Linked DNA regions of Homo sapiens: region 2 is linked to region 1. Evidence: promoter capture Hi-C in 16 types of primary human blood cells and fetal thymus (Javierre and others, 2016). All regions are on one chromosome and are shown on one strand. The core of a region is centred on a gene start or on the middle of the fragment in contact, and the rest is flanking DNA. Distances in the headings are between cores, read along the strand shown.

Region 1 (3,664 bases), core at 338-2,837:
TTTGTTAGAGACAGGGTTTTGCTATGTTGGCCAGGCTGGTCTGAAACTCCTGACCTCAAGTGATCTACGTGCCTCGGCCTCCCAAAGTGCTAGGATTACAGGCATGAGCCACTGCACCTGCCAACTTTTGTTCTTTATAAATTAGCTAGCCTGTAGTATTCTGTTATAGTAGAAGAAAATGGACTAAGACACAATGTTGTGGCTACTGTCAGCTCTGCTCATTCTGGATCCCTCAAGTGTGTGGCTCATGTCACACATGGGACCAGGGTCCTGGTGTTTTATTGTTCCATCCAGGGCTCTATTCTATATATAATCTATCTATCTTTCTTTCTTTCTTTTTCTTTCTTTCTTTCATCTTTCTTTCTTTTTTTTTTAGATGGAGTCTCTCTCTGTTGCCAGGCTGGAGTGCAATGGTGTGATCTTGGCTCATTGCTTTGCAACCTCCACCTCCTGGGTTCAAGTGATTCTCCTGCCTTGGCCTCCCAAGTAGCTGGGATTACAGGCACGTGCCACCATGCCTGGCTATATAATACTTCATCAGATATGGTGGTACAGAAAAGATAAGAAGTTGTGCTCTTACAACAAAAGTTTGAAATATCAGATGATCCAGTAGAGTTCTAAAAGATAGTAAAGATTAGAGGCTGTGGGTATCAAAGATGGGTATCTCTGGGGAAAGAGAAGGAAAGAAATTATATTTTCAGATAGCTATGTCTTAGAGAAGAGTATCTTCTGATGTGCAAGTTGGATTAGAGAGAATGTATAGCTAGTGGAGGGACCAGATGAGAAGCTATTTCAATGGTCCAGGACTATTCTAAAGGTATTTAATATTAACTGGGCAGTTACTATGTTCCAGGCACTGTATCAAGCACTTTACTTACATTAACTCATTTATTTCCTGTGGCAACCCTTTGAGAAAGAATTGTCATGAGTACTCTATTTTACAGATGAGGAGACTGAGGAGGAGAGTGATTTGGCAACATGCCCAAGGTCAGATGATTAATAAATGATGGAGATGAGATTTGAGTTTGTGTGACTTCAGAATCTATGCTGTTGACCATGACCCATATACTGAACTAGGTTAACAGTGTATAACCAGGTGGAGCTTCCCTATAGGAAGTTAGAAAGTAGGATCTGGAGCCCAGGAGAGATATTGGGATATTGGGTTAGAGGAAGAGGTGTGAAGTCATCCGCATGGAGATAACGGTTGAGAAAGACATGGGGAGTGATCACCACAGCTCCTTAAGTAGAGGGTGTTTTATGATTCAAAAGTAGGCAGCCATAGAGAAGGGAAGCTCCTTAGATCGATGAAGTAATCCCAGATAGGAAGAAGAGTGAAAGAGGCAGGGAACAGAGTTTTCTCTGTTGGAGAGGTTTCGTAAACTGGGACTGACTTTCATGAAATTCCGAGTCATGAAATCTCAGGGGGTGACTCAAACATTACGTTCACATTAAATGAAGGCCAACAGATTTTCCTGTTTGTGCTTGGTCCATTCTCAGAAACGTCTCTTGCCACCCTTTCTCTTCTGCTAAGTAAGGCTTAAAATTAGGAAGCATTCTTTAAAAGGCAAAAGAGGAAATAGATGAGTGAGAACACAAAGGAAACTTGGACAAGTAGAAAGTGGATGACCCAGGCTCCGTTACATATACTTGGATTCCAGCTGGGACCTAGATTTGCTGAGGACGGAAGCCAAGGAGACAGGAACATGTGGCTGCTCCCAGCTCTACTCCTTCTCTGCCTCTCAGGTGAGTGGGGCTGTGGCTTTGGGGACTTGGTTTTGCAGGGGGCAGGACAGTAGGTAGAAGAGCTGTCCTGGGTTCAAACCAGAGGTGAAGTGTCCACAGAAAAGGGAAAGATACATCCGTTCATTCACCTGTGCATCCTTCTATACATTCAATCATTCATCCACGGATCCTACAAACACTTACTGAGCACCAGATATGTGCCAGGACTGTTCTGGGTGCTGTAATTAAGAGTAACTTCTGAACTGAGGGAGTCAACTAACTACAATACAATGTGGAAATTACTGTTGTAGAGACTCATTCATGTGGTGATGAGAGTATGCAACAGGAACCCCTCACTTTGCTCTTGGAAGGGTGGGAGATGTCACTGAGGCTTCATTGGAAGTCCATCCTGCAGGATGAATGAGTTGGCTGAGTGGGAAAGGAATAGCTTATGTGCAAGTGTGAGGACATTAAAGACCATGGAGAGTTCAAGAATTAACAATAGTTCTGTTTTGACGAAGCTTAGTGTAAAGGGGTTGGAATGGTTTGTGAGAAATAATTAATGGGCTGGGCGTGGTGGCTCACGCCTGTAATCCCATCACTTTGGGAGGCCAAGGTGGGTGGATCACCTGAGGTCAGGAGTTTGAGACCAGCCTGGCCAACATGGTGAAACCCTGTCTCTACTAAAAATACAAAAATTAGCTGGGCGTGGTGATGCATGCCTGTAGTCCCAGCTACTAGGGAGGCTGAGGCAGGAGGATCGCTTGAACTTGGGAGGCGGAGGTTGCAGTGAGCCGAGATTGCACCACTGCAGCAGTCTGGCCTGGGTGATAGAGTTGAGATCCTGTCTGAAAAAAAAAAATGCCATCCTCAACATCTACCTTAAATCCTTCCCGGAACAAGGTGTGGTGTAAACAAGTAAATGAAACTGTCCTGCAAAGGTTGGACTTCAGAAGAGAAACTCTTATTAATAGACATTCAAAATACAAAACTGCAGGAAAACACATTTGTCTCTGGGGAAATAAATTTAGGCTAAAAATTAGAGGACATTCTTCATGTTTGCAGAATGAATTTTATGGTTGAGTTCCCTCACAAAACATAGAAATTGCCCAATGTAATGACAAGATTCTTTCTAGAAGGGTGAGTGAAAATGACAGCGATTTAAAGGAAGAAGACCAGGTAGGTGACATGGACCCAAACTCGTGGGCTCAAGCAATCCTCCTCTCTTGACCTCCCAAAGCACTGGGATTACAGGCATGAGCCACTGCACTCAACCAATGTTTGCTCATTTTGTATTTGAATTTGCTTCCTTTTTCTTTGCCCTTTCCATCTCTCTTTCCACCCCTATCTCATTCCCCATCCTCAGACTCGCAATGTGACCTGCGCAGGTCCCTCTGAAAATCTTAACTGGGAAAGAGAGATGGAAAGGGCAATTCTAGCAGGGAGGGGAAATGACAAAGAGGAAGGAAGCAAATTCAAATACAAAATAAGCAAACGTTGGTTGAGTGAGGTGGCTCACACCTGTAATCCCAGTGCTTTGGGAGGTCAAAGCAGGAGGAATGCTTCAGCCCAGGAGTTTGAGATCAGCCTGGGCAACATAGCAAGACCCCATTTCTACAAAAAAAGAAAAGTAAAAAATTTAAAAAGAGCAAAACTAGAATTCTATTTATTACACATTTTTATAACCTATAAACACTTCCAAATAGATGATAGAATTTAACCCTCTGAGCAGTTTTGTGACCCAGGCAGGGCAAATAGCATTGACTCCACTTTATAAATAAGATGATGAAGGGAGATCTGATGACATAAGAACTAAGTAGACAAGCTGGAAATGAAGTCCAGATCTGTGTCCTCCACAGAGCTCTTTCCATTGGCCATGGAGGTGTCAAGAATAAGGCTAACCTAGTAATAGTGACAAAATAGCTGACCTCTCTGCCACATC
Region 2 (3,376 bases), core at 831-3,330, 93 kb before region 1:
GTGCTTAAAAACAAGATCAAATTTTCTAGGCAGGGGGAGCCTCAATTGCAGCTCTTCCACTTTGTCAAGGAGCAGGTAGCAAAGATGACAGGTGCTCTATTCTGAAAATCAAAGAGCCCTTTTTTTTTCTCTAACCCACTATCTTAGTCCCGGCTGCTATAACAAAATACCATAGACTGGGTGGATATGATATGATATGATATGATATGATATGATATGATATGATATGATGTATGATATGATATGATGTTTTAGAGACAGTGTCTCACTCTGTCACCTAGGCTGGAGTGCAATGGCACGATCTTGGCTCACTGCAACCTCCGTCTCCTGGGCTCAGGTGATTCCCCTGCCTCAGCCTCCGAAGTAGCTGGGACTACAGGGTCGTGCCACCATGCCCAGCTAATTGTATCTTTTGGTAGAGACGGAGTTTCACCATGTTGGCCAGGCTGGTCTGGAGCTCCTGATCTCAAGGGATCTGCCTGCCTTGGCCTCCCAAAGTGCTGGGATTACAGGTGTGGGCCACTATGCCCTGCTGATTGTGTGGTTTATAAACAGAAATGTATTTCTCACAGTTTTGGAGCCTGGAGAGTCCAAGGTCAAGGCACTGGTAGGCTCAGGATCTGGTGAGGACCCACTCCTCAGGGAGGACTCCTTCTTGCTGTGTCCTCACATGGTAGAAGGGGCAAGGCAGCTCTCTGGCACCTTTCTTTTTCTTTTCTGTTTTTTTTTTTTTTTTTTTAGATGGAGTTTCGCTCTTGCTGCCCAGGCTGGAGTGCAATGGTACGATCTTGGCTCACCACAACCTCTGCCTCCCAGGTTCAAGCAATTCTTCTGCCTCAGCCTCCTGAGTAGCTGGGATTACAGGCATGCACCACATCTGGCTAATTTCGTATTTTCAGTAGAGACGGGGTTTCTCTATGTTGGTTAGGCTGGTCTTGAACTCCCTCCCGACCTCAGGTGATCTGCCTGCCTCGGCCTCCCTAAGTGCTGGGGTTACAGGCATGAGCCACCGCGCCCAGCCCTCTGGGGCCTTTCTTATAAGGGCACTAATCCCATTCAGGAGACCTAGTTACTCTCCTGACCTAGTTACTCTCCAAAGGCTCAACCTCGTAATGCCATCACATTGAAGGTTAAGTTTCAACGTATGAAATTCGAGAGACACAAACTTTCAGACTCACTCTTTGGAGACGCCTATTTTTCTCAGAAATAAGCTTTGCCTGTGCCTGAATTCCTGGACAAGAACTTGGGTAAGGCCCAGATTCCCATTCCATACACTGCAGAAGAGGGGCATGAGATCTGGAAAATGTTCAAGGCTGGTGGTATCAGTTACCTGCTTAATAAGTCAGTTTTCAGTGCATGATAAAACATTCTTTCATTCTGAAATTTGTTTTATTTCATTTTATTTTATTTTTGAGACAGAGTTTCGCTCTCGTTGCCCAGGCTGGAATGCAATGGTGCGATCTCAGCTCACTGCAACCTCTGCCTCCCAGGTTCAAGTGATTCTCCTGCCTCAGCCTCCTGAGCAGCTGGGACTACAGGTACCTATCACCATGCCAAGCTAATTTTTTGTATTTTTAGTAGAGACAGGGTTTCACCATGTTGGTCAGGCTGGTCTTGAACTCCTGACCTCAGGTGATCCGCCTACCTTGCCCTCCCAAAGGGCTGGGATTACAGGCGTGAGCCACTGCACCCGGCCAGGAAATTTGTTTAAAAAACAACCTTGGAGTGGACGCCCTGGTGACAACCAGCTCCGGGATTCTCTGCTTTATCAATTCTTCATTGTCAGCACTGAGCAGGATCTAAGGGCTGTTTTCTCTCTCTCTCTCTCTCTCTCTTTCTCTGCCCCCTCCCTGACCCTGACACAAGGCAGCATGGCTTATATGAACCAGGCCTGGGTTTGAATCTTGGCTCTGCCACTTACTAGCTATGTGACCTTGGACACGTCACTTGCTCTCTGCGTCTCAATTTCTTTGAAAAATGAGAAACGCATCACCTTTCCTCTAGATTTATAGTGAGGATTCAATGTAATAATGATGGAAAATATGAAACATAGCACAAGTGGTTGGGAAAGATAAAGTGCAATTGGAAGTGAGGGGAACTAAAAGGGCTCAGGAATGGTTTCTGAGAAGAATTATGATTTATAAAAACAGAGACTGGTTCTTAGGTGCTAGACAGAGTCCCCTAGCAGAGCACACAAGGCCAGGGCAGAATGACAGGTTCAACCATTCACGTACATACATGCACACACACACATACATACATACATAGGTGCGTTAGAGCAGGGAGAATCTCAGATGACCTGTCTAATCCCTGCTTTCACATATGGGGACAGGGAAGCCCAGGGATATAACTGGCTTGTGTATAGGTCAATGGTCAAACCAGGATTACAGGTTCAAATGAGTTTTTGAGGACGCAAGGCCTGCAGAAGAGCCGATTCCCCTGTATTCCCCATAGGCACTTGGTTAGAGGAGCAGCTACTCAGAACCACTTGGCGAATTCTCTGCTTTTTCTTTTTGAGACAGTGTGTTGCTCAGTTACCCAGGCTGGAGGAGTGCAGTGTTGTGACCTCGGCTTACTGCAACCTCTGCCTCCCGGGTTCAAGCAATTCTCTTGCCTCAGCCTCCTTAGTAGCTAGAATTACAGACATCCACCACCATGCCCGGCTAATTTTTTGTATTTTTTAGTAGAGATGGGGTTTCGACATGTTGGCCAGGCTGGTCCTGAACTCCTGACCTCAGGTGATCCGCCTGCCTCAGCCTCCCAAAGAGTTGAGATCACAGGTGTAAGCCACCGTGCCCGGCCTGAATTCTCTGTTCTTGTTTCAAAGGGGAATCCTTCTTGGGGAGGCCAGGTCTGGGAGAGGCCACGATCAGAGGGTCTGGCCACAGGCAGTTCTAACAGACAGTGCTGTTCCCTCCTTGTTGCTCATGCCCAGGAGAAGAAAGCTTACCCCACCACCCTCGATGCATCTGCCCCTTGTTTTTCAGGGCAGCCCCCATTCCTGGTCCTTTTTCCTGGAAGCCAATGGCTTCCCTACTGCAGAGGGCTGATTGCTCTCTGAGTATCTGCATGGTGCCCTGGGCAGAGGACCTATTGACATGCAGCAGGGACCAAAGGGCTGGCCAAGCCCTCACCCCGGATTCTTGACCTACTTTATGGTCTGCAGATATGTAAAGCGAGAAGCCATCTCTGGCCACGTCCTGGAAAAGCCATGGCTTATCAGCTGCTGTGGTTTTCTGTGCAAATAACCCTCTGCACACCCACTCATTCCTGATTAGGGTGTGAGGGGGTTGCGTCCCTCTTTGAGACTCACTCCCTTGTCAAGATGTCACAGGGTGTATGTGACACATGGCAAAAGTGGCTCCAGGTGCAGAAG

The links. Contacts are between HindIII fragments. The CHiCAGO score rates a contact against its expected background, and 5 or more counts as called.
Region 2: a fragment that was not itself captured here is called in contact with the fragment with the promoter of CD300E in region 1 in 1 of 17 cell types (monocytes); the score reaches 5.8 in monocytes.

The regions. Positions count from the first base shown.
Region 1 is chr17:74,621,661-74,625,324 of GRCh38, reverse strand. CD300E (CD300e molecule) reads left to right here and starts at 1,587. Exons shown (of 4, transcript NM_181449.3): 1 at 1,587-1,743. The coding sequence starts at 1,704. The region is part of intron 3 of LOC101928343 (a long non-coding RNA gene); the gene reads right to left. The HindIII fragment of the contact is 4,294 bases long and covers 1-2,245 here.
Region 2 is chr17:74,715,172-74,718,547 of GRCh38, reverse strand. It overlaps a transcript of RAB37 not described here. Among named protein-coding and RNA genes, the nearest start is that of CD300LF, 3.9 kb to the right of the region's middle. The HindIII fragment of the contact is 1,734 bases long and covers 1,214-2,947 here.